Linked DNA regions of Homo sapiens: all the other regions are linked to region 4. The links are contacts of gene promoters, found by promoter capture Hi-C in blood cells and fetal thymus (Javierre and others, 2016). All regions are on one chromosome and are shown on one strand. Each heading gives the region's core, a stretch centred on a gene start or on the middle of the fragment in contact. The rest is flanking DNA. Distances are from core to core; before and after follow the strand shown.

Region 1 (5,246 bases), core at 1,913-4,412, 1.5 Mb before region 4:
CCCTCACCCTCCCCAACATCCTTGTGCCTTTCGAAATATGTCCTTCCTGCCCCATCCCAAACTCTGGTGATGACTGATTTGCTCTGACACTATAGATTCATTTGCATTTCCTAGAAGCTTATAGGATGGAATCACACAGTAGGCATTCTTCTTAGTCTGGCTTCTTGCACTGAACGTAATTGTTTTGAGAATCACCCATGTTGTTGGCCGGGCACGGTGATTCACGCCTGTAATCCCAGCACTTTGGGAGGCTGAGGCGGGTGGATCACCTGAGGTCAGGAGTTCTAGACCAGCCTGGCCAACATGGTGAAACCCTGTCTCTACTAAAAATACAAAAATTAGCCGGGCATGGTGGCGGGCACCTGTAATCCCAGGTACTCGGGGTGACCAAGGCAGGAGAATCGCTTGAATCTGGGAGGCGGAGTTTGCAGTGAGCCGAGATCGCTCCATTGCACTCCAGCCTGGGGGACAAGAGCGAGACTTCGTCTCAAAAAAAAAAGAAAAAAAAAAGAGTCACCCATGTTGTTGTGTGCACAACATTCCTTTCTTTTTCTTTTTCTTTGTGTGTGTGTGTGTGTGTGTGTGTGTGTGTGTGTGTGTGTTAGGGGGGCGGTTTGGAGTCTTGCTCTGTGGCCCAGCCTGGAGTGCAGTGGCGCAGTCTCAGCTAACTGCAACCTCTGCCTCCCAGGTTCCAGCAATTCTCCTGCCTCAGCCCCTCCTAGAAGCTGGGATTACAGGCATGGGCTACCACACCCAGCTGATTTTTGTATTTTTGTATTTTTAGTAGAGACGGGGTTTCACCATGTTGGCCAGGCTGGTCTCAAACTCCTGGCCTCAGGTGATCCGCCTGCCTCAGCCTCTCAAAGTGCTGGGATTACAGGCGTGAGCCACTGCGCCCAGCCCTTTTTTTTTTTCTCCTGAGACAGGGTCTCACTCTTGTTGCCCAGGCTGGGTGAGCTGAGATTGCATCACTCCAGCCTCGACCTCCTGGGCTCAAGTGATCCTCCTGCCTCAGCCTCCCGAGTAGCTGGGATTACAGGCCTGCGTCACCACACCTGGCTTTTCTTTTTTTTTTTTTTGTAGAGATGGGATTTCTTCATGCTGCTCAGGCTGGTCTCCAGCTCCTGGGCTCAGATGATCTGCCCACCTCGGCCTCCCAAAGTGCTGAAATTACAGGCGTGTAATCTCATCATGCCCGGCCAGTGCATTCCTTTTTACTCCTGAGTAATATTTCTTGGAGTGTCTGTACTACAAATTATTTATTCATTCAGCTGTTGGTGGACATTTGGGTCGCTTCCACTCGGGTGCTATTACAAACAAAGCAATTATGAGCAGTCAGGTTCAAATCTTTGTATAGACAGATGTTTTTGTTTTTCTTGAGTAAATACCTAGGAGTAGAATGGCTGGGTCAGATGACAGGTGTATGTTTAAAATTTTATGAAACTCCAAACTATTTTCCAAAGGAAGGGGGTCATACCATTTTATATTTCTACCAACAATGAATGAGGAACTCAGCCCTCCTAGGGCCCAGTCTGGCGACTGTGACCGTATTCCAGAGGCTTTATAATCCTGTTTTTTTCCTGTGAGCAAAAAAGTTATAAAGGAATGAGATCTAGAAAAGATAGTTCTAGTTGAACCAAAATCTTTTATCCAGGGTGAGGGCATACAAACTGCAAGGGGCCTGGGTGGGGGAGGCAGAGAAGCGCCCGCCTCTTCCGACCTCTCAGGTGCGTGTGAGCCGATGCTCCGCTAGGGGGCGCGGGAGAGCAGGCCGCCCCCCGCGTGACTCTCAGAGCCCGAGGGCTCCCTCCAGGTCCGCTGCCTTCTGCCCACAGGAAGGAGTCACTTTCCCAACTGGCGGGGAGCGGGGGAGTCACTTTCCCAACTGGCGCGGGCGGGTTGGGAGGGGCCGCTGAGCCGCATCTGCCACAGTCACGAAGCTTTCTTAGCACCTCCTGGAGTTCAAGGAAAATCCAGAAGCAGCTCTTTCCTTGAAGGAAGACGTTCACAGCATCGCACCCACGAAGAGGGTGCGGCTTCCCCCTCTCACCCTTCTGGGTCTCGGCCGATCGCCTGGCAGTTGGGCTCGTGGCCCATCCTGCAGGAGGGCGCAGGCATGCATAGCGCCTGCGGAGGAGCGCTGCTCCTACGCCCCAGGCACGGCCCCCGCAGGCCGGGCAGTGACCCCGGTGGCCCGGCCCTTAGGGCGTGCGAGTTGACCGTGCCCCTTCTCCAGGACGCGCGGCCGGCGGCTGGGTTTTCGAACGCGCGGCTGTGAACGGCTCCTTGGCGAGGAGGCACAGCCTCCGCAGGCCGGAAGCCACGCGCCCACCAAAGGCACGAGGAGCAGGGCGGAGAGTACTGCGGGTCAGACGAGCGAGGCCCTCGGGGAGGCGCCCAGAGGAGCGGGGCAGCGCGGCCGCAGCGCGGGTCGGGTCCGCGGACGCTGTTCAGGCCCCACTGTGGGGCTGCTGCCCCTGGGCTGCCCTCCGGCTCGGTGGAGCGCGGGAGTGGGGGTGGGGGCGCCTCTGCTGCTTCCACCCCAGAAACCCGGGTCAGCGTTGGGAGCTGCACTGGGCGGCAGCGGAGAACATTAGAAGGGACAGTGTTTGGGTTAAAATCTAACCCTCGGTCGGGCGTGGTGGCTGAAGCCTATCCAACCACTTTGGGAGGCCGAAGCGGGAGGATCACGAGGTCAAGAAATCGAGACCAGCCCGGCCAACATGGTGAAACCTCATCTCTATTAAAAATACAAAAATTAGCCAGGCGTGGTGGTGAGCGCCTGTAGTCCCAGCTACTCGGGAGGCTGAGGCAGGAGACCCGCTTGAACCCAGGAGGTGGAGGTTGCAGTGAGCCAAGATCGAGCCACTGCACTCCAGCCTGGCGACAGAGCGAGACTCTGTCAAAAAAAAAAAAAAAAATCTATCCCTCATGATCTTGCTTTCTGTGCGTGTGTCTTTGCGTCAGGGGCAGGGAAAGCCTGTAGAGCACACATTGCCTAGTGAGGTCTTTACAACACAGGCTTTAATTATTTTCCTCCTTTCGCAGCTGAGAACAGAGAATTTAAGCAACTTGCCCAGAGTTCCAGAGCCAGACCTTAAAGGTAGGGCTTGTGACTCCGCATTAGGAACGTTCTCCTCCCCTGGATGGACCCGATGCCCCCGCACTAATAATCTTGAGCCGGAATTCAGCAACGCAGTGGTGACATTCAACCTTCCGCCTCACGGAGGCGGTGCCGGCGGGGCAGGGGATGGCCGCCAGGGGGCAGTGTGGCTCCGTGCCTCCGCGCCCGCTCCCGGACCCGCGCCCTGCCCCCACCGGCGCTGAGCCCGCCGGCGCTGAGCCCTCCAGCCCTGCTCCGCGTTCTTAGCAGCGTCGCCAGGCGTGGAAGAGGTTGGACTCAGGGCTACGTCTTCCAGTAGTTAAAAAACGGGGGGCCGAGGCCCCCACAGTTAAAGTGGGCGAGAGAGCAGCTTCCAGCATCTATGGCGATGATGGCCTTTTTTTGCCCAGATGCAACCAGGTCTGCCAGTCGGCCAGCTCGCACGGAGGGGCCCACCTCCAGCCCTGGCCTCAAGAGGGACCAGGCACAAACCTTACCTTGACAATGTTTCCAGCAACACTTCGCTGGGACAACTAGTCAGTGTGGTCAACCAGGCTAGGACAACTAGTCAGTGTGGTCACCCTTGTGGCCGTTCTTACGGGGAATTTGGTTATTATGGGGAACTTGGTGAGACTTGGGTGTAAGCCAGTAGTTGCATTAGTTGTTTTTGTAGCTTATCTTGTTTTAGTAGCAGTGATAGTGAGATTTTGCTTGTTTTTTTTTTTTTTTTTTTTTTTTCTTCTGGACTGATCCAAACGGAATGCTGAAGTTCTGTCTCCATCCGGAAGACCTGGGCTGTGGCCTCCCGGCGTCTCTGGGCAGGGGCATCTGCAGGTCCCCACTCTGGTGGGCACCCTGCTGCGAGTCTGCTCATACCCAGGGTGGATGCACCAGCTGCAGCTTTCAGCTGAAAAGAAACACGCTCTGCTCTGGCTTATGTCTGGCTGAGCTCTGGAAGGGCGGGCCCCTCTCAGCGAGCTGGGGGGCCCGCGTAGACGAAGATGACCCGCAGGCCTTATCAGCACTTATCTTTCAGTAAAGCCTGAGAGGCCAGCTTTGTGTCTGGGACCCTGGGAGCTCAGGAGGGCAGCTCGGCTTTTGTTCCTTGTTCTTCTCCAGCTGTTGGGAACTTTGCTGACAGCAAGAATCTACTCCATGGATTCACAGCACAGGCTATGACCAGAGACATATTTTTGTCCTAAAACATTTTTTTTTCTGATTATAAAGTTAATGGCCATTTTTCTTTTCTAACTTTTTATTTTGAAATAATTTGAAGCTTCTAAAAGCAGTTTAAAAATTATGCAAAGAGTTCACATGCACCCTTCACCCACATTGATGCCCTATAAATGCCTTGGTTTATATTTCCCCTCAAAATAACCACAGGCTTGTGACTGAATCAGGAAATTAACATTGATATAGTTGTGTTATCCTCCACAGACCCTCATCATATTTCCCCGAGGCCCATGAATGGGCCTTTGCTGAATCACACCTTGGGTTAGTTATTGCGTCTCTTTAGTCTCCTCTAATCTGGAACACTTTCTCAGATTTTCTTCATTTTTTCATGACTTGGACAATTTTTGAGCATATGGACCAGTTATCTTGTAGGAAGTCCCTGAACTTGGGCTTGTCTGACGTTCCCTCAGGATCAGACTGTTCGGAATCCCAGGGGCGGTGCTGGGTTCTTCCTGGTGCACCCCCCACCCCTGCCTCTGCCAGGGAGCAGCCGTTCCTGGAGATGTCACCTTTATCACTTGGTTAGGTGATGTCTGCTGTGTTCTCCACTGTAAAGTGATTATACCTTGTGGGGGGATACTTGCAGACTTTGTGATTATCTTATTTCTGAAACATTTTAGAGAATTTGAAAAGTATAGTCAAGAAGGGCAAAGAATCCCTCCTGGCTCCCCGCCTGCAGATAAGCACTGTCTCCATGCTGACTCCGTGCTCTTCTTCTTTTCCCTGGAGTCTCTGCTCTCTTTGGGATCCTCTAACCCTGCTGGAAGGACGTGTTCCTGTGGCTGATAAGCCTCACGCGACCTCTCCCATCCCCTGTCCCATTCCTCTGGGGGTGCTGTGGAGATTCTGTCTGAAACAGAGGTGTGATTCTAATAGAATTTTTAGGTCTAGCCCAGGGAGGAGGGAGAAG
Region 2 (5,446 bases), core at 686-3,185, 1.1 Mb before region 4:
ATCACCATTACAGTGAAGCTAATAATAGTAAACTACCTAAAAATGGTAATTGTAAAAAATTAGATAATTAAGTAAAACTCCTAAAACAGTAGCTGGTCATAGTAAGGAATATATGTGTTGTTATTACTATTATTATCAATGGAATGCATCCACTTGAAAGTTGCATTCTACATAGCCATTATGTCAGTTTAATATTTTGGCTAATAGGCCGGGCGCGGTTGGCTCATGCCTGTAATCCCAGCACTCTGGGAGGCCAAGGTGAGCGGATCATGAGGTCAAGAGATCAAGACCATCCTGGCCAATATGGTGAAACCCCGTCTCTAATAAAAATACAAAAATTAGCTGGGCGTAGTGGCACATGCCTGTAGTCCCAGCTACTCAGGAGGCTGAGGCAGGAGAATCGCTTGAACCCGGGAGGTCTATAGAGGTTGCAGTGAGCCGAGTTTGCGCCACCGCACTCTAATCTGGCGACACAGCGAAAAACACTACTAATTATAATTGTAATTCTTGATTCTGACATGCACCCTGATATTGGAAATCTTAAAATCTAGAAAAATCTGCTGCTTGTTATTGATGGATTATATCTCTTTTCACATTGTCTCTAAAATCAAAATGGCAAATTGAAATTTTAATCAAGCTTCTTTTTTTCCCCTACAACTACCAGGGAAGAAGTTTGATTTTTTTCCCCTCTCTGAAATGACTAGTTGTGTAATTTTGTCTTATTTTTCCAGAGGTCCATTGAGTTAAGATGTAGCTCTTGACAGAGCAGACCTCTTAATAGAAGTGATAAGCAAATTCAGAAATAAATTTTGATTTAAATGGGAGGTATCATCTGGTTGAAGGAATACCCTTGTGACTAACAAAAGAGGAGGATACCTCATTTTCTTTTTTTTTTTTTTTTTTTTGAGACGGAGTCTCGCTCTGTCGCCCAGGCTGGAGTGCAGTGGCGGGATCTCGGCTCACTGCAAGCTCCGCCTCCCGGGTTCACGCCATTCTCCTGCCTCAGCCTCCCAAGTAGCTGGGACTACAGGCGCCCGCCACTACGCCCGGCTAATTTTTTGTATTTTTAGTAGAGACGGGGTTTCACCGTTTTAGCCGGGATGGTCTCGATCTCCTGACCTCGTGATCCGCCCGCCTCGGCCTCCCAAAGTGCTGGGATTACAGGCGTGAGCCACCGCGCCCGGCCCTCATTTTCTGAGTGTTTATTATTTAACCTCACTGCTGTACTTACAGTGTATACTGAAGCAGAAATAATCATGACATGAAAATATGTCCTAGTGAACTAGTTGCCTCATAAAGTTAGACATTCTCAAATATTCCTTCCCCCAGTAGCTTTTGTCTTTGCATTGACATCCTTGTCTAGGTGCTGATATTGTGAACATCTAACGCTGTCAGACCAGTCACTTCAAAGTTAAACTGAATATCTTGTAAAATATTAAGGAATTCCTGTAGTTAATATGTGTGATGTTGGATAAATCACATGAATGAACTGAATCACATACAAAACTTTTGGCAAAGGAGGATCTAGCAAAAATTAAGCCAATTAAAACTACAAAAGAGAAAAAAATAACACAGATGGTGATAACACAGGCATTTCAAAACAGGCTCATGGAAGGATGATTAAACCCACCAATAATTTGCCAAAAAATAGTCTCTCTTTATCTTCACACTGCAAAAGTCAAATATATATCTGTATGTGGTTGACAGATCTCCAGAATTGTGAGTTAATCTAGCAAAAAGGCTCCAGAAAAAAATAGATATGAAACTCTAAGACAACACAAGAAATTAAGTCTTTTGAGTTTTAGTTAGATGATTTTAGGTTGCAGCATTTCTCCCTTCATACGTCGTTCCAGCCAATAAGGAAGCAAAGATGAGTGAAGGCAAGAGAAAGAAGATAAAATAGACCTGTCCTTCCTTGCCACAAATAACCTAAATCTTAAAGTTTAAAACTCAACGTTGCACAACAGTGTGAACATACTTAACACTATTAAACCGTACACTTAAAAATGGTTAAGAAGGTACATTTTATATAATATGTTCTTTCTTATCACAGTTTAAAAAGCAAAACACAACAAAAAAGCTCCGGCCAAAGAAAGGAAAATTTGAGGCTTGAATGAGGTATAGTGAAAGATATATAGAGTCAGTGTTAGAAGTATATCATGGTCCCATATAATGAATATCATTACACCTTGAATATTCACCAACACCATTTTTACTTCATAGACTCAATAAATAGACTCAAATAATAGAACATTTAATACCTCATGTCAGATAAGTATAAAAATCCTGCAACAAAACACCAAGAAATACTGGTTGAAACATGTTTATAAAAACTCTCAAAATATAAAAGCGAATGCTTATACACTGTTGATGGGAATGTAAATTAGTACAACCTCTATGGAAAACAGTATGGAGATTTCTCAAAGAACTAAAAGTAGAATTACCATTTGATGCACGAATCCCACTACTGAGTACCCAAAGGAAAATAAATCATTATATTGAAAAGACACCCACACTTGTATGTTACCACAGTAAAGTTCACAATAACAACGTCATGGAATCGATCTAAGTGTCTATCAAGAGATGACTGGATAAAGAAAATGTGGTATATAAACACCATGGAATATATTGCAGCCATAAAAAAAAAAAGAATAAAATCAGGTCTTTTGCAGCAACATGGATGGAGCTGGAGGCCATTATCCTAAGTGAAATGACTCAGAAACAGAAAATCAAATACCACGTGTTTTCACTTAAAAGTGGGCGCTAACTAATAGATACATATGGACATGCAGAAGGAAATAATAGACACAGAGGACTCCAAAAGTGGGTAGGATGGGAGAGAGGTGAGGGTTGAAAAATTATCTGTTGGGAACAACTTTCACTCTGAGTGACAGGTACACTAGAAGTGCAAACCTCACCATTATGCAATATACCCATGTAACAAACCTGTACTGTACCCTCTGAATCTATAAAATTTTAAAAATAAAAAAATCTCAATGCATAGCTGAGCTTTCAAGAAGTACGTGAAATACTCATAGATCAAAAATAAGGAAGGAACTGAAAACTAGTTATTAAGATGGCACTTATACCACTCCTTTCCTGGACACATTTGTCTGGCTCAGTTACAAAAAGGTCTGAATTTTCACAGGCTTGTGGGAGCAGAAGACATGGTCTTAAGCTCCCACAAGTTCCCACATTGAAACTGAGCCTCCCATTTGAAATCAGAAAGCTTGAAAGGTAACATCCTTAGTGAAATGGTGAGCTAGAAGAAAAAAGTCTGGATAGCAGAAAAGAAGGAGGATGAAGAGGGATTTGTCTGCCTTGGCATGGGATTTTTGAAGGGGTATTCTTAATTCCCTCTGAAATTTTGAAACCACAGCTATGCCCTCAAATTTAGGATTTGAATGTATACAATCTGCGTTACCTAAGAAACTCCAAGCCAAGATAATAGCATAATGTAGTGCCTGGTTAACTGTATCTAGGTTGCTAGAAAGAAGCATGCACATCCTGGCCTGGCCCTTGTTCCTTGTTTTTGTCTCTTTTTCCGAATCATCCCTAAAGAAGTTGGAAGCAGCTTAGAAAGTAGGAGAGGAAGGTGAGGCATAAATCATATAAAAGAAGCAATCACCCCCACATTTTCCCCTGCCAACCACTTGCCTGTACCAAGTGTGAGCTCTGAAAGGGGAAGTCTTTAAGGTTAAACAAGTGTTGAAGTCTTAATTTTTTTTATTACATGGACTTTACCAAACTGACTTTTTGTTTGTCTCTTTTTAGTGGCTAGAAGTGACCCCAGGATTTTTTTATTATCAAGAGAGACTAGAAGAATCATGAGACTTTTCCTAGTTGCCTTTCAAGAATATGAAGAAAAAAATGGTTCTCAAAGTGGGTTTGAATGAGTATTGTTCCAATAAATGAACTTATATTCATATTTCATCCCCTGAGTCCTGGTGTTTCAACATCCATTAGAACTGAATAATCATACTGCATATCAAAGTTTGTGGGAAATTGCTAAAGTGTAAAAAATGCTCATATTGAAAAAGAAGAAAAGCTGAAAATTAATTGTGCTTCCAACTTTAAAAAAGGACAACAAGCTAATCCTAAAGAAACTAGAATAAAAGGAAAAAATAAACAGAAGTTAAAGAGTAATTTTAAAAAATACAATAGAAATTATCAACGAAGCCAAAAGTTGATTCTTTGAAAAGATTAATGAAGTAGGCAAACCACTGGTGAGATGAATCAAGAAAAATAGAGAAAAGACTCAAATAAACATTAGGAATGGAAAATAGGGCAATGCTAAAGAGAATTCAAAGATCAGAAAAATATGGGAGTATACTAAAAACGATTTCATGCCCAAGTGTTCAAATCTATATTGCCTTTAAAAATATATAAAAAAGGAGCCGGACACTGGCTCATGCCTATAATCCCAGCACTTTGGAAGGCTGAGGTGGGTGAATCACAAGGTCAAGAGATCAAGACCATCCTGGCTAACACAGGGAAAACCCGTCTCTACTAAAAATACAAAAAATTAGCTGGGCGTGGTGGCACACGCTTATAGTCCCAGCTGCTCAGGAGGCTGAGGCAGGAGAATTGCTTGAACCCATGAGGCAGAGGTTGCAGCGAGCAGAGATGGCCCCACTGGACTCCAGCCTTGGCGACAGAGAGAGACTCCATCTCAAAAAAAAAAAAAAAAATCAAAAAGGAAAAGAAGCACTGAAGAAATCCATAACCGTTGGAGAAGCTTGAATCAGTAGTTGATAATGTCCCTCCAAGAAAAGACCAGATGTAAGTGACTGTACAGGAAAGTTCTGCCAAATGTCAAAGGGAATAGATAAATATCACATAAACTCTTCCAGAGAATACAAGAAAAGGAACACTCCCCAACTTATTTTATAAACTTGGTTAAATCTTGATAGCAAAATTTAATAAGGACACCATGACAAGTGAAATTATAAGCAAATTTTACTTACAGTTATATGCAAAAGTTCTAAACAAAATACTGGACAACTGAATCTAATTTTGAATAATACTAGCAAGAATAATAATAATAACAATAATAATAATAATAATGCATCATGACCAAGTTGGGTTTACCTCAAGAATGCAAATATAGTTTAAAACTGGAAAATCTAGTAGTGAAATTTACCACACTAAGAAATAAAGAAGAAAAATTATGTCATCTCAACAGATCGAAAAATTTTCTAAAATCCAACCAAATATTAGCAAAAAAGCAATAAAGGAAAATTTCTTAACTTAATAAAGAGTATCTATTCGAAACCTGCAGCAAGCATGATAGTTAATGATGAAATGTTAGACACTGTCTTTTTAAAACCATAAACACAATGATATCTGTTATCACTACTTCTACTCATCATTGATCTTAACCATTTCAATAATAAAAGATACTATATATAAATTATAGATATTGAGAAGGAAGACCAAAACTGCT
Region 3 (4,960 bases), core at 2,029-4,528, 1.7 Mb before region 4:
CGCCCGGCTAATTTTTTGTATTTTAAGTAGAGACGGGGTTTCACCCTGTTAGCCAGGATGGTCTCAATCTCCTGACCTCATTCATGATCTGCCCACCTCGGCCTCCCAAAGTGCTGGGATTATAGCTGTCAGCCACCGCGCCCAGCTGAAGGGGCCTATATTTTTAAGAGTTGAAAATGCTACTTTAGTAATATAGTAAGTATCCTGAGATAGGTTTCAGTATTTTTCAGATTTAGTATGTATTGTTGTTACCGGAAAGGGGTCCTGATCCAGACCCCAAGAGAGGGTTCTTGGATTTCTCACAAGAAATAATTCAGGGCGAGTCCGCAGTGCAGAGTGAAAGCAAGTTTATTGAGAAAGTAAAGGAATAAAGAATGGCTACTCCATAGGCAGAGCAGCCCTGAGGGCTGCTGGTTGCCCATTTTTATGGTTATTTCTTGATGATATGCTAATCAAGGGGTGGATTATTCATGCTTCCCCTTTTTAGACCATATAGGGTAACCTTCTGACGTTGCCATGGCATTGTAAACTGTCACGGCGCTGGTGGGAGTGTAGCAGTTGAGGAGGACCACAGGTCACTCTCATGGCCATTTTGGTTTTGGTGAGTTTTGGCCGGTTCCTTTACTGCAACCTGTTTTATCAGCAATGTGTTTATGACCTGTATTTTGTGCTGACCTCCTATCTAATGCTGTGACTTAGAATGCCTTAACCGTCTGGGAATGCAGCCCAGTAGGTTTCAGCCTCATTTTACCCAGCTCCTTTTTAAAATGGAGTTGCTCTGGTTCACAGGCCTCTGACATTATGGGCTGTTAATATCTGAGACAGAACAAAGACATCAGGAATATGATCCATACACTTCAGACAGCTTCTTCATTGCATGAAAATGGAGCCAAACAAGCAAAGATCTGGTATGACCTCAGCTTTGCTCCTGGAATCACCTTCTGCCCAGTTCACACATTCCTGGCATGTCTTTCATTCTCTTGGGGAAGAGAGCAAGTGGAGTTGCCAGGTTACTGTTGATGAAGGGCAATTTTTAGAAGCAGAAAGTCAGCATCCTGTGCTGGATGATTCATCTTGCCCTCTGGGGCATGCTCTGAATGTTAAACAGTAACTATTTGTTGGTGATTAATCTGTTGGATTTTGCTCAACCCCTAATTCGAGTGTCCATGATGGATAGATCACTTTTTTCTTTACACTACTTGTCAAGTATAAAACAGATGGATAACATTTCCCTTCCAACTGATTCAGAAAAATATGTTTTTTGGTATTAAACTGTAAAAACAAAATGTATGTTTACTAAATTAGGTGAAAGTAGGGCTGAACTTTCAACTTTCTAGATCAACCATTACAATATGAAATTTGCCCCTAAACCCTGAAAGTTTTGGAATATGAGAAACGGGACCGAGAAATGTGTGAGTCCCATTTTTCAGCCTTTTCCTCCTTTTGCTCAGCAGACACTGAATATAATCCACAGGCAGTACAGACTTATTCTTCCAAAGGATTTATTATGTAATCTTGTACAAGCCTCAACTTTTCTCATTTATAAAATGGGAAAAATATCTTCCTTACCCAATTGTTGAGTGAACTGTGAAACATCCATATGTATTATTGTGTATCAGTACATATATGCTATTTTTGTAGTAGGCCTCCAGAAAATGGAGGCTATATACTGTTTCATTTCTTAAAAGGATACTTTCACTTGGTTCAAAGTTCAAAAGATAGTTATATATTGTATTTCTTGAAATCTTTTCACTTCTGTTCCCAGCCACACAATTTCCCTCCATGATCCATGTTTCTTTTGCATCTTGCCAGATATTTTATGTACGTCTAAAAGTAAAAACGTATTTTCCCCACTTTAACAATTTTACATAAAATCACACTATTGCTTGTTTTGCCTTTTAAAATAAAAATACATTTTTGAAATTGTTCATATCAGTACAGTTTCCTTTATTTGTTTTTAAACAATTGTGGCTTAATTTAGTCATAGCTGTGCATTTGTGTGTCTTTCACAGAGAGAAAAGCTATTCAGCTTAGTTATCTGTTATTATACAGTCGTGTTCTAACTTAATTACCAATCCTAACCCTTAACCAATGGATATTCATTCATCCATTCAGCAAATATTTATTGAGCCCCTACCGCGAATCAGGCGGTGCCTGGGAATCTGTATTCCCAAGAACAAAACGCAGCTCCCCAGGCCACATCTAGCGGGTAGGAAGCCGGGCAACCCCTCCGCCCGGTCCTTCCTCTGCAGCCTGCGAGCCCCACCCGGGCCGCGGTCGGCGCCAGCCAGGCGGGGCTGGGGCGGGGCGGGCAGAGGACGTTGGGGCTCCGCGCGTCCCGGCGCGAGTACTAGGACGCGGCCGGGGCAGGTGGGGGCCGAGCAAAGTAGGGCGCTGCCCCGACTCCCGGAGCAGCCGCTCGGTAGAGCGGGGTCGCCGGGGTGGGGAGATCCCCGAGGCAACTTCGGGGCATCAGTCCAGGGTGAGAGTGTCTACTCTCGCCCGGCTCTTGTGGCCTCCGCGCCGCGAGCGGCCCGCAGGGACTTCGGAGGCCACTTCCTGGACTCTCCCCTTTCCACAGATGGGGAACCGGAGGCCCACAATCGGCCCGGAGGAGTCAGGGCGGTGCTGACAGGGCTGGTTCACAGAGCGTGCAACAGCTGAGCAGACGGAACTCGATTAAGAAACCAGGCACGCCGGGTGCCCATCAGGACCTCGGGCAGCAGAGACTCCAGCCGCCGGGCGGGTGGTGGGACCGAGGGCGGGGCGGGCGGCGGGGCCCCAGCCCTTTAAACTCCCTGCGCGCGGGAACCGCGGCCCAACAACCAACGGCGGGCGGGGCCGAGCGGGGCGCGCGCCTCCACCGCCCAACGATCACCACCCCCCCCGACCCCGCCCCGCCGCTGTCCAATCAGCCGCCCTCTTGCCGCCCTCCCCGCCGCCCTTGTCTCCCTGGCCCGGACTAACCACGCGGAGGGACGGCGGGGCGGGGCGGCAGGCGGGTGTGTCCGGGCGAGTGGAGACGCCGCGCGCTCCACTGGAGTTTCGAACGCTGTTGGCCCTCCAGACAGAAAAAAATATAAGAGCGGCGGCCAATGGCGAGGTGGGAAGGACCCGCGCGCAGACCCGGCCCCGCCCCGGCCGGCTGGAAAGAAGGCCAGGCCTGGCCATTGGCTCGCGCCGCCTGTCACTCGCCGGTGCGGCCAGCGGGCAGCGGCCTCGCGGTGACTGGTTCCGCCCAGGCGCGAAATGTAACGCGGGAAAAGCCGGGGCAGGCACCGCGGCGGCAGGTTGTTATTTTTGGGGGCTCAGCGCCGCGCGTCCTGCTTTCCTGTCACCGCAAGGGCCGGGCCGCCCGCTGCTTCCCACCCCTGCAGCCTGCGCTGCGGAGTACAAAGAGCGGAGGGCGCGCTTGACCTGGGGCTGGGGTCCAGCCCTGCCCGCCGGTGCCGTCTGCTCAACTAGTTAGGTGGCTGCTGCGCAGGATTCCGGGAAACGTCAGTCTGCCATGAGCCGGCAGGACTGAGCCTGCGACTCGGAGCAGAGCGAGTGAGGGGCAGAGCGGTGCTCAGGAGTGCGGCCCGGGGCCGCCGGAGCTGGGGGTCGGGCCGGGCGATGATCCGGGGCTTCGAGGCGCCCATGGCGGAGAACCCGCCGCCGCCGCCGCCGCCCGTCATCTTCTGCCACGACTCCCCGAAGCGGGTGCTGGTGTCGGTCATCAGGACGACCCCGATCAAGCCAACGTGCGGCGGTGGAGGGGAGCCGGAGCCGCCGCCGCCGCTCATCCCCACCAGCCCCGGCTTCAGCGACTTCATGGTGTACCCGTGGCGCTGGGGCGAGAACGCACACAACGTGACGCTCAGCCCTGGGGCCGCGGGGGCCGCCGCCTCGGCCGCCCTGCCTGCAGCCGCAGCCGCCGAGCACTCGGGGCTTCGTGGCCGGGGCGCGCCCCCGCCCGCCGCCTCGGCCTCCGCCGCCGCCTCGGGAGGTGAGGACGAGGAGGAAGCGAGCAGCCCAGACAGCGGCCACCTCAAGGTGAGCGGCGCGGGCGGGCGGGCGGGCGGGACGTGGGGCAGCCGGGGCCCGTTAACGGTGCGGCGGGCGGGGCGGAGTTGAAAACGCGAGGTCGATCCGGCTACGGCGGGGGCTGCGGCTGACAGGATGCTGACGTCACTGCCGCGCGCCAAAAACCGGCCCCAGTCGGGGGGGGCCTGTCACGTGACAGGCGGGAGCGGCGCGGGAGACCGTCCTTGCGGCAGGTGCAGTGGGCGGGAGCGCGGCCCGGGGTCGCTGGGGAGGCCGGGTCAACGGCCACTGACATCCTCCCGGCGGGCTGCCGAGTCCTCAGTTCCGAGAGGAAACGAGAGGGATGAGGGCCTTGAGTTGTTCCACCGACTGCGAGAGGGCAGGGAGCGCACAGTGTTTGCTCCATTACTGCAGATCGCCCTCGCCCTGTTAAAAGATGCCCTGCAGAGACAGCCGAAGAGCAAGAAAGGACTTCTGGGCCTGTTCTGCGGCTGAAGTTGTGCCTTCGCTGCCTTTCATTTATCCAGCATACTACTTGCTAGGTGTTGAGAGCACATAGTGGAATGGGACGCTAAAATTGCTTGCAGTCTCCGACTGCTTAAAGCTGGGAAGGTCGTTACCACTGGTTCAAACCTATTTTACAGATCAGGCAGCTGGGGCTTACAGTGATTAGTGAGGCGACCTTCCCACGATGGCACAGCTCAGTAGTGGAAGAGCGGGGACTAGGTCGAGGTTTTGTGGCTTTTAGTCCTGCATGTGTTTGGGGTGACTTTCTGCTGACTTATACTGAACTCTGTAGACTGTAAGCTCCAGGTGAGCCAGGAGTATTTCTATCTAGAAGACTATATGACTTTACTACCTTACATTCTGTAAATGCTCAATAAAGGTGCTCAAAAAATATTTGTGTAATGAATGAATGGTGCTAACAGAAGGG
Region 4 (4,955 bases), core at 1,892-4,391:
CCATCTGCTTCCTCTGACTCTATGGCAGTGGTTCTCAATTGGGGCTGATTTTGCCCCTCAGAAGACATTTGGCAACGTCTTGAGACATTTTTGATTATCACACTGGAGAGGTCTGCTACAGGCATCTAATAGGCAGAGACCAGAGATACTGCTAACATCCTACAATGCACAGGACAGCCCCCCACAGCAGAGAATTATAAATGTTTCAGAAGTAGAGACTCCCTGCTCTATGGTCTTCTTTTCTTTCTTTTTTTTTTTTTTTTAAAGACAGTGTCTCATCACTGTGTCTCCCAGGCTGGAGTGCAGTGGCGCCACCACAGCTCACTGCAGCCTCGACCTGCTGGGCTCAAGCTAATCCTTCCATCTCAGCCTCCCCCAAGTACCTGAGACTACAGGCATATGCCATCATGCCTGGCTAATTTTTGTATTTTTCGTAGTGGCAGGATTTCATCATGTTGCCCAGGCTGGTCTTGAACTCCTGGGCTCAAGGGATCCTCCTGCCTTGGGCTCCCAAGGTGCTGGGATGAGTGAGCCACAGTGCCCCCAGCCTCTATGGACATCTTTAGAATAACATAGTTCATTTCTTCAAACACTCTTGGAACATTTTAACCTCAAGTCTCTTGCTCTTTCATCCTTCTGACAGAACTTTTATAAAACCAAACCTTTAAGCAATGGAATCATCCACCTTCTGTACTTCTAAACTACTAAGCTCAACAAAAGCTGAATAAATATCACGATCACAAGAATATCTGACTCTAGATATTCATAGACTCCAACTTTGGTGGGACACCAACTTTCCTGGACAGGCAACCCTTCATGTTTCTCTCTAGTCTCCCCATCAAACCCTGTCCTTTTCCCTCAGTGATTATTCTAAACTTCTACCAACTTTCCTCAATCCCTATCCCAACAAATCAACGCAATGTCAGCAAATTCACCTGCTGCACTTAAGAACTTTTGCTCCATCACACAAGAACTTCCACACATTTCTTCCTCATCCCACACACTCACTCACGTCTGTGCCCACCCTTCTCCCCATCCCTCCCAGGAGAGTGGAAGAAGTGTCCCTCGTGCCCCGCATAGCCTGAAGGTGGCCTCTGCTCTGGAGATCGTCTTTTGGTGGCCTCTGGGACCTTGCTTCATCAATCATCCAGCCCTCTAAATCCTTGACCTCAGCATCTTCCTGTTTCCAAGCCCTTTCCACCTCACAAATGTGAATGTTCCAGTCTCTTCTTACAGGAAAAACCCACAAATGAACAAAACCCTCCCTTAAGTCCACATCTCCCTCTAACTCTTCTTTATCTCCTCACAGCCAAATTCCTTAGAAGAACTGTCCTCGACCGGGCACAGTGAGGTCAAAAATCTACTCGGCATCCTGAGTGTTTAAGAAGGCAAGAAATTGTGTAGTACATTTTTAAAATTTCCATCTCAAAGAGTCAATAAAATTTTCATTTCTAAAGAAGTATTAAGCTCTCAACTGTAAAATTACCCATTCCCTGAGGACTCCAAACAGCAGGGTTTTACTGCACAATCTTGTTTGCCATTTATCTCATTCTTAAAAATAAGGATGGTGTGTGTGTGTGTGTGTGTGTGTGTGTGTGTGCATGCGCGCACGCAGGAAGGATCACAAATTAAGCTTTCCAGGTGTTTTAACTCCAGGAATATGGGAACTTAACACAGTATTAAAGATATTAAAAAGTGTTAAATCATTTGTGTAGGTGAACAAACTCATAAAATTGTGTGCAACTATTGTAAAAAGCCTAAAATTTGAGCATTAGTAGAGTCCTTTAAGAAAAGTGCAGGCTTTGAAGTTATATTCAGACCTGAATTTAAATCTTGATTTTGCCATTTAGTTAACTGTGAATTTTTAGCAAGTCAATTTCATATAACCGAAACTCAATTTCCTTCTCTATAAATTGGGGGTAATAATTCCTAACTCACGAGGTGGTTGTATGAAGTAAGGAGAAAACATATGCAAAGTGTTGAACACAGTACCTGGGATAAAGCAGATGGGCCAACAGTAAGCAACTATTATTATACCCTAACCTTATTCTACTTTGTCCCCCAAATATTGGAAGAATCTAATCTTCCCAATTAGCAAGTCATTGGAAGGCTTCCCAGACTTATACGAAGCACAATATACACTATTCAAAAATGGAACAGACTAAAAGTATTTTAAAAATACAAAACCAAACAATCAATGAGATCAAGGATTTCAGAATTCTGCTTCTCGTCCCATATACTCAGCATCTATTCTGTCTGGTTTTGTAATAACCCATATTATTTCTTTATCAACCATATGAACCTTATTGTTGTTTTTTTGCGATCTAAACATCCCTAGCGGGTTATGTTACTTATTTTGAGGGCTACCTTTGCAAGGGTAATTGTCATCATTGCACGAAAACCAAAAAGAAATCAGGTACAAGGGGCATTTTATGCAATGCTATTAACTGTTCCATGCATCTCAACAGTGGATTGGATCCTAAGTGGATATTTTATTATCACAATAGATAATCATAATCACATTACTGTGCCACCCCCTCCCCGCCCATGCATGCGTTCATGAACAAAACTCCAGACTAACAGTATGAATGTTCTATAGGGACCCCAAAACTCAAAATGTGGTGCTCTCAGTAAAGATCCTCCGGGGGAAGAAGAGGCGGATGGGTTTCACTGCAAGTGGAAATGAATCGAATCGAAACTGTTCTGCCTACTTAAGACTGGAGATGAGCCCTGTGGGGCTAGAAGCCGAGACCGGCAGGTGACCGAGGGCCTGGAGGCAAGAGACGAAGGAGGAGGCACCCAGAGGCTGAGAAAGGTCTGTGCCGCCGGGGAGAAGACAGCCAGAGCCCGTGGCCACCTCTACAGCTGAGGTGGTAAGATGTGACCGCTCCGCCCAGTCCCCAGGATGGGTTTCAGCCCCAGGAGTCTGGGAGAACTGAGGAGGGGATGCGGGTCCTCGCTGGTCGAGCAAAAGTGAGGGTAAGGGAGGGTTCCCCGTCGCCTTCAGAACGGAATGATGCTGTCCCCGCCGCCATCCCGACGCCGGAGGAGAGGAAGGCAGGGACCCAACAGGGAGCGAACAGGTTACCTGTCTCAGCCGCGTCCCACGGGTCACCACTTCCGCAGACTCGGGGTTACTACGGGCTACCCCGGCACGCGCCGGGTGACGTCATCCACACGCGCCCGGGGCCGCATTCTGCCTGACCCGCCTTCCGCTAGGCCCGCCCCCTTAGGATGAGAGGGCGAGACCGCCCGGGGGAGATCTGCGCAGGCGCGGAGCTGCCGCGGTCATAGGAGGGCGCGAGCAGCTTGGCTGGCTAGGGCTTGTAGAGTTGCCCTGGTACCCTAGTATTCCTAATTGCAAAATCTTTATGAAGCTTAAGAAAAAAATCACCAGCCTGGGCAACCTGGGGAGGCCCCGTCTCTACAAAAAAATTAAAAAATTAGCCGAGTGTGGTGGCGTGCACCTGTGGTCCAGCTACTATGGAGGCTGAGGCAGGAGGATTGCTTAGGTCCAGGAGTTCGAGGCTGCAATGAGCTATGAACGTGCCACTACACTCCACCCTGAGCCACAGAGCAAGACCCTGTTTCAAATAAAATTTAAAAAAAGTTACTGAAATACAGATGTGCAATTTTATTCCTTAGCCTAGTCTCACCTCTGCTGCATGTGACTATTGTTCACATATTAATTCCACCACAATTTAAGGTCCTCCTGTGTGCCAGGCAAGCACCCTTAACAAAAGCTGGGGAAACAACCAGGAACAAGACAGACGCTGTGCCTTCCCTCATGGGGATTACTTTCTAGTTGAGAAAGCAAACATTAAATGTAGAAGGAAAGGCCGGGCGCGGTGGCTCACGCTTGTAATCCCAGCACTTTGGGAGGCCGAGGCAGGCGGATCACAAAGTCAGGAGATCGAGACCATCCTGGCTAACACGGTGAAACCCCGTCTCTACTAAAAATACAAAAAATTAGCCGGGCGAGGTGGTGGGCGCCTGTAGTCCCAGCTACTCGGGAGGCTGAGGCAGGAGAATGGCGGGAACCCCGGGGGGCGGAGCCTGCAGTGAGCCGAGATCGCGCCACTGCACTCCAACCTGGGCGACAGCGAGACTCCATCTCAAAAAAAAAAAAAAAAGTAGAAGGAAAATAAGTTGCTGAGAAATTAAAGGAAGACAGGTGACCTTTTGATTTGAGATGTCAAGAAAGTGCCCTCTGAAGAGGTTCAGTAAACTGAGAAGCAGCCAACTCTGTGGAGAGCTAAGGAAAGAACAGCCAAGAGAAGAATCTACATGTGAGCAAGCAATAGGGAAGGGGCAGAATGTGGTGCCTTGGAGAAAGTGAGAAAGTAGGTCATGGGAAGAACAGAGGATGAGATCAAGAAGGCAAGGAGAGTCCCCATCATGCACAGACTCTCTGGGTTCCTGTGAGGAATACGAGTTTATTCGAAGTGTAAGGGGAAACTAGTGAAGAGTTATCAACACGTAAGTGACAGGATCTAGTTTTATAACATCACCCTGCTAGCTGCTGTGTATACATGAAACTTTTGAGAAACAATTTAAAAGGATGCAAAGAGAAGAGTTGCTTTTGCAATGAGCAGGTAAGAAATGATAGAAATGGACAAATTTCAGGAATAATTCTGAGGTAGATGTGACAGACTTGGAGATGAGTTTAGATAAGGGAGATAAGGAAAAGAAAAGTGTCAAAAATAATTCTTAAATTTGGGGCCTAAGCAAATAGCTGGATCATATAGCTAAAACAAGGTTTGTTTCACCTCCTTTCAAACTTGATTTCTTTGCTTGTTTCCAAGTCAGTCCTCTAGGTTCTCCTGTCACCTATCTTTCCTCAGTTTCTATCACTGGCTTCCACTTTCCCTTTTCCTGAGCTCTTTTTTCCCTTGGCTTTCTTAGGCTCCATCAGAGGCTGCAAACCCCAAAGCCTACAGCAGCCGGGCAGTTAA
Region 5 (5,223 bases), core at 319-2,818, 1.7 Mb before region 4:
ATTTTCAACATCTTTATTGTAGTGACTTGATTCTCAAGTGATGACTCTGGATTTAGCTTTTCACAAATAAAGGTAAACATTACCCAGCTGCACATCAAAGCCCTAATACTTAAACCTGAGACGTTTCCTCAGGGCTGCGATGCACAATTTTTATCAAGCAAGGAACAAACCAATAAAGCCAAGTTGAACACACTGGCAAACGTCGGCAGGAATGGTCAACCTACACATCTTAATCCTAACACTCTGCAAACCTTGGGACCGCTGCCTCATTTCAAGAAAACAGGAAACACAGGTGGAGTGTTGCTGGCTCTGCCACTGACGCAGTTCGGTGAGAGAATGAACTCTGAAGCACCCTCCCCGTCCACAGGCAGCAGGACACCACGCTGCGCACCGGTTTTTCTTGCTAAATAGGGAGTGGGGAACTCCGAATATTCTTGCTGGAAAGGTTAAAAACGCTTTTCTTAAAGCAGCCTTGAGCTATTTATAAGTTGCACATCCCATCAACACCACACGAAGTACTGAAATACGATGCCGGCTGCCTCCTGGAAGCTACCGGACGGAGAAGGGGCGAAGGCGCCAGGCCGGACCGCGCCGGGGACCCCCGCCCGGGCCCCGACGTCACAGGCCGCCCCGCGGTCGCCCAGGCCTCCGGCATCACAGAGGCCCCCAGCCCCGGGACCAGGCGCCCTCCTCCTCCCCACCGCGCTCTCGGGTGGCTCCGACCTCAATCTTGCAGAGGCTGGGCTGGAAGATGAAGGTCCCCGCCAGGTCTGGATGTGGGAGCCCCGGGGTAGCGACCTCAGCCGTTCGCCCCCACACGCCACCCAGACAACCTCCCTCAACTTCGTCCAACTTGCCGTAGAGCCTCAGTGCCAGGGTTCGAGGGCCCTATCCCACCCCAAGCCAGCGTTTCCCCCGGAGCCCCGCACGAGGCTGGCGAGAGCTGGAAGGGGTGTGACCCCTGCCCCTCTCCTCCTACCTTCGGCGGCCACCAGGACCCTCAACTCTCCCTACTGTTCCCGGGCCCCTCCTCCTGAAACCGGCCCCCGGGACCCCAGTCTCACAGCGGGCCGAGCCGTGGTCCGCTAACCCCGCTGTCCCCGCGTACCCGGCGCCTGCAGGCCGCCCCCGGGGCTATCGGGCCGCTGAGCGACGGGCGCCGGGAGGCTCTTGCGCTCCTTCTGCGACTCCCTCCGGCCGCCCGCGCCGGCTCTGTGGCCCGAGGCCCCGGCTGGGCTCCTGCCGCCGCGGGGACCGGCCCCGGCCGCCGCCGCCGCCTCGTCGCGCCTCTTGCGCTGCAGCTGCTGCTGGCGCCGGCGCTCGGCCTCGCGCAGGATGTCGAACGGGTCCGACTCGTCGTCCAGCAGCTGATGGAAGCGGTTGGCCACCACGCAGCCGAAACTCTCCTGCATCGCGGCGCCAGCGGCAGCCACGGGACTCCCCAGAGCGCCCTTCATGCCGCCGCGACCACTGCGGGCCCGGGAGGGCAGCCCACGCGAGCGCGTCTCAGCGAAGCCGGCGGCCAGGACCCATGCCGCCCGCTCCGCCGCCACCGCCCTCCGGGCCCTACCCTGTCCGGCCCCTACCGGCGCCCGCCCCCGCGGCGCCGCCGCCGTCCGCCCCGCTGCGCCAGACAGCCAGTCAGCGCGCGCGGGTGCGCCCCCTTTCCGACACGGCGCGCCTGGAGACCCAATCACCGACCGGCTGCTGTCACGTCACGCGACCTCTGGGCCCCGCCCCGTTCGCTCAGCAGGGAGGGGCGGGGCCCAGGGGCGGAGCTACTGGCTGGTCCAGGCGGCGCCGACGAAGCGGTGGGGTCTCGGCTGTGTGTGCTTTCTCCCGGGACTGCGACCGTATTTGCTATGGGCCACTCTGCTTTGAAGCTTATGTATACATTTAGCCGTGCAACAGCTACATATTGCGCACTTACCGTGTGCCAGGCATTATGTTGTAGGAAATACTAGCTCCGTGTTGTCACAGATCTGAGTCTGTAGATGGAGAAAAAGTGCCCTGAAGGACAGGCGCAGAGCTCTCTACGGGCTGCAGCAAAGGGATCTGACCTAATTGGGAAATGACAGTTAAGCCGAGGGAGAGGGGTGACAAGGGGTTGGAGGAGGAACAGCAAGTGCAGCAGTCTTGAGGTGGGATGTGCACAGCCTATTCAAGCTCAAAGTGGTCTCTATTCTAAGAGCAGTGGGAAGCAAGTTTTGAGCATGAGCAGATTTGGGTTTGAAAAGGCCACCCTACCTGCACTGTGAACTAATAGTTTGGAGGGAAATACAAATGGATGCTGGGAAGCCAAACATGATTGTTGCAAAGCTCCAGGGAAGAGTTGATAGTGACTGGGATTAGGATGGTGGCGGTGGAGGCGAAGAGAGTAGATGGATTCAAAGACTTGGTGATGCGCTAGAGGTGGTGATGAGGGAGAAGAAGATACGGTGACTCTTATTTTCCTGGCTCCAGCATCTGAATGATAGTATTAGTTACCACTGGAAGACACTACTTTAACGGGAATCATTAATTCAGTCTGGGACACGTTGAGGTTTGGATATTTGTTTTCTTTTGAGATATTCAGTTGAGGCCTGGAGCTTAGAGAACGCCGGACTGGACTTCCTCCAGGAAATCTTTGCATAGGCAGCGGTGGAGACACGCTTGGCTGCCTATCCTACAGCCGTTCTTTCCCTCTTACATTTTTCCAGAGCCTGTATTTTGTTCAGGCATCATATTCCCCAGGGGAAGAGGGCCCCTTCCAGCCTCAAACTTGATTAATCATACATTATTCATTGCACCTGATTCCAATTCCTTGCCAGTAATTGGCTTAGGAATAGGCTGTGGGGCAAATCGGGCAGAACAGATCTGAGAAGTATTCTGGGAAAGTTTTTCTTGCACCTAACAAGGGATTGAGAAGGGATCTCCCCCCCTTCTGTTCCCTGGTCTTTGTTCCATGAGAAGACATGATGCCTCGGGTGGCTGTTCCTTAGCGTGGCCATGAGGATGGCAGAGCAGGATAGAGAAAGGCTAGATCCTTGATGAGGTTGAGCTGCCGACTGGACCCACTTGGGAACCTCCCTACTTGAGGCTTATGATGTAAGGTGACAGATGTGATTGCGCTTAGTTGTGTTTGCTTGTTTCATCCGAAAGCATCCAGTTAGAGCATCTTGCCAGGTGCTCTGTGACCAGCTTTTACTTTCCTTAATAGCAAAGGAATTCCTAATCCTAAATGCTGTAAAGTCTGTGTGTTACTCACTTATTGAATTTTGTGTTATTCCCAAGGAGGACAGGGATGATGCCTGTCTTATTCACTGCAGTATGTATTCCCAGTGCTTGGCGTTCTAAGCAGCTATAGAGTAGGTTTTCAGTAAATATTTGTTGAATGATTGAAGAATTTAAGATATTTGGTCATCTCCTTTTGAGTGAGCAAAGATTAATGCCTACGCTTTCTACCCAAAAGAATTAAAAGCAAGTGTTCAAACCAAAACTTGTACATGAGTATTCATAGCAGCACTATTCACAATAGCCAAAAGACAGAAACAAATAATATACATGTCACCCGATGAATGGATAAATAAAATGTGGTACAAAAAATATTATTTGGTCAAAAAGGAAGTATTGATACTTGTTACAACAGGGATGAAACTTGAAAACATTGTGCTAAGTGAAAGACGGACAAAAAGGGCCACACGTTGTATGATTCCATTTATATGAAATGTCCAGAATCTATAGAGACAGAAAGCAGATTGGTGGTCACCAGGTGTGGGGGTTGGGAGTGTTGGAAAGTAACTGCTTAATGGGCATGGGAGTTTCCTGTGGGGTGATGAAATGTTCTGGAACGAGATAGTGGAGATGGTTGCACAAAATTGTAAATTTAGTAAATGTCACTGAGTTGTACACTTTAAAATTGTAAAAATAGTAAATTTTGTGTAAAATTTAGTAAAAATAGTAAATTTTTTGTAAAAATAGTAAATTTATCTTAATGAACCAGAGTAAAAATAGTAAATTTATCTCAATGAACCAGAATCACTACATGCAACAGAGACCACACTTTGAGAAGCACTGCTTCAAGCTAAAGTTATCTTTGGTATCTTTAAACTGCTCATCACCAAACCACAACACCAAGGAATCATGATCATGTGAGAGAAGGGCCTGTCGTCTTCCCACTGGGCATCTGGAGTTAGCCTGCTCCCCTGTTTTCTTCTTATCTTCCTTACAGCATAACCAGCCACTGTAAGTTCTTAAAGCATGCCCTGTGAGCACTGCCGCCTCATTTCCAAGTCACAAATGCCCCAAATGGTTGTAAGAGAACCAACTCTCGTTGCTTCAGGATTCAGAACATCTTTAGAACTGAAATAGAGATGAGTAATCCTTACCTGGTATTAGATGGCCACAAGTTTCTTTTTTTTCTTTTTTTTCTTTGTGTGTGTGTGTGTGTGTGTGTGTGTGTGTGTGTGTGTGTGTGTGTTTGGCAGAGACAGGGTTTCACCACGTTGGTCAGGCTGCTCTCAAACTCAAGTGATCTGTCCACCTCAGCCTCCCAGAGTGCTGGGATTACAGGTGTGAGCCACCGTGCCCGGCCATGGCCATGAGTTTCTTACGGGGCTATTGACTACTGCACAATTTACTGAGAGTAAGGTTAAGCACCCTCATATTTTTTACTGATTGTTTTTTCTTCTAGGAGATTGCATCCTTAAATGCATTCCTAAAATACAACTCTACCACATTAGCATAAGTTATTCACACATTGTGTTTAATGTGGTCAGTTTAATAGACTGATCTTTTTCATAATCTGATATATGAAAACAGCTTTTAGTAATCATAATACCAAACAATAACACACATCTTATAGCATGGAAAAACAAAGCACATCAAAAATGCTGTGAAGTGTGGATGCTGAATAATACTACCAGCCCTTCCATGATTATTATATATATTCCAGTGGTTATTTATTACCACCAATGGAAATGCAGTGAAACTTAACTGTATACAAGATGTAAATTACCTTGAATTACTTAATAGAGGAGTCCCATTAGGAATAATAAAATACACTAACATCTTCCAGATTGACTTGGAATTCACAGAACCATTAATTGAGAGTTTAGACACATGTAGCTTCATTACTTTCAATTACATGCAGGGAGCAACACCTGGGTGAGAGCCAAGGAGGAGAGGCCAGGTCAGGCTGGCGAGGATGTGAGTTCTTGTTAATTACCAAAGCACTGCATTCAA

The links. Contacts are between HindIII fragments. The CHiCAGO score rates a contact against its expected background, and 5 or more counts as called.
Region 1: a fragment that was not itself captured here is called in contact with the fragment with the promoter of AOPEP in region 4 in 4 of 17 cell types (naive CD4 T cells, naive CD8 T cells, fetal thymus and 1 more); the score reaches 7.9 in naive CD4 T cells.
Region 2: a fragment that was not itself captured here is called in contact with the fragment with the promoter of AOPEP in region 4 in 2 of 17 cell types (total B cells and naive B cells); the score reaches 5.4 in total B cells.
Region 3: the fragment with the promoter of ZNF367 here is called in contact with the fragment with the promoter of AOPEP in region 4 in 2 of 17 cell types (monocytes and activated CD4 T cells); the score reaches 6.5 in monocytes.
Region 5: a contact is called between the fragment with the promoter of HABP4 here and the fragment with the promoter of AOPEP in region 4, in 1 of 17 cell types (naive CD4 T cells). The highest score is 7.1, in naive CD4 T cells.

Annotation. Positions count from the first base shown.
Region 1 is chr9:96,216,351-96,221,596 of GRCh38, reverse strand. No RefSeq gene overlaps it. Among named protein-coding and RNA genes, the nearest start is that of HSD17B3-AS1, 27 kb to the left of the region's middle. RefSeq lists a silencer at 3,149-3,358 and an enhancer at 3,369-3,588. The HindIII fragment of the contact is 2,439 bases long and covers 1,943-4,381 here.
Region 2 is chr9:95,868,770-95,874,215 of GRCh38, reverse strand. The region is part of intron 1 of ERCC6L2-AS1 (ERCC6L2 antisense RNA 1); the gene reads left to right. Among named protein-coding and RNA genes, the nearest start is that of ERCC6L2, 4.2 kb to the left of the region's middle. The HindIII fragment of the contact is 2,592 bases long and covers 640-3,231 here.
Region 3 is chr9:96,416,688-96,421,647 of GRCh38, reverse strand. It overlaps ZNF367 (zinc finger protein 367), which reads left to right and starts at 3,278. Exons shown (of 5, transcript NM_153695.4): 1 at 3,278-4,035. The coding sequence starts at 3,616. RefSeq lists enhancers at 1-397, 214-1,413, 1,930-2,463, 2,464-2,997, 4,472-4,711 and silencers at 2,132-2,401, 2,662-3,321, 3,432-3,571, 3,872-4,111. The HindIII fragment of the contact is 11,520 bases long and covers 1-4,960 here.
Region 4 is chr9:94,724,885-94,729,839 of GRCh38, reverse strand. It overlaps AOPEP (aminopeptidase O (putative)), which reads right to left and starts at 3,141. Exons shown (of 17, transcript NM_001193329.3): 1 at 3,089-3,141. RefSeq lists enhancers at 2,870-3,349, 2,872-3,414, 3,360-3,529. The HindIII fragment of the contact is 1,744 bases long and covers 1,636-3,379 here.
Region 5 is chr9:96,446,514-96,451,736 of GRCh38, reverse strand. It overlaps HABP4 (hyaluronan binding protein 4), which reads right to left and starts at 1,568. Exons shown (of 8, transcript NM_014282.4): 1 at 1,109-1,568. The coding sequence starts at 1,457. RefSeq lists silencers at 1,051-1,100, 1,181-1,240, 1,251-1,790 and an enhancer at 2,071-2,150. The HindIII fragment of the contact is 2,057 bases long and covers 1-1,885 here.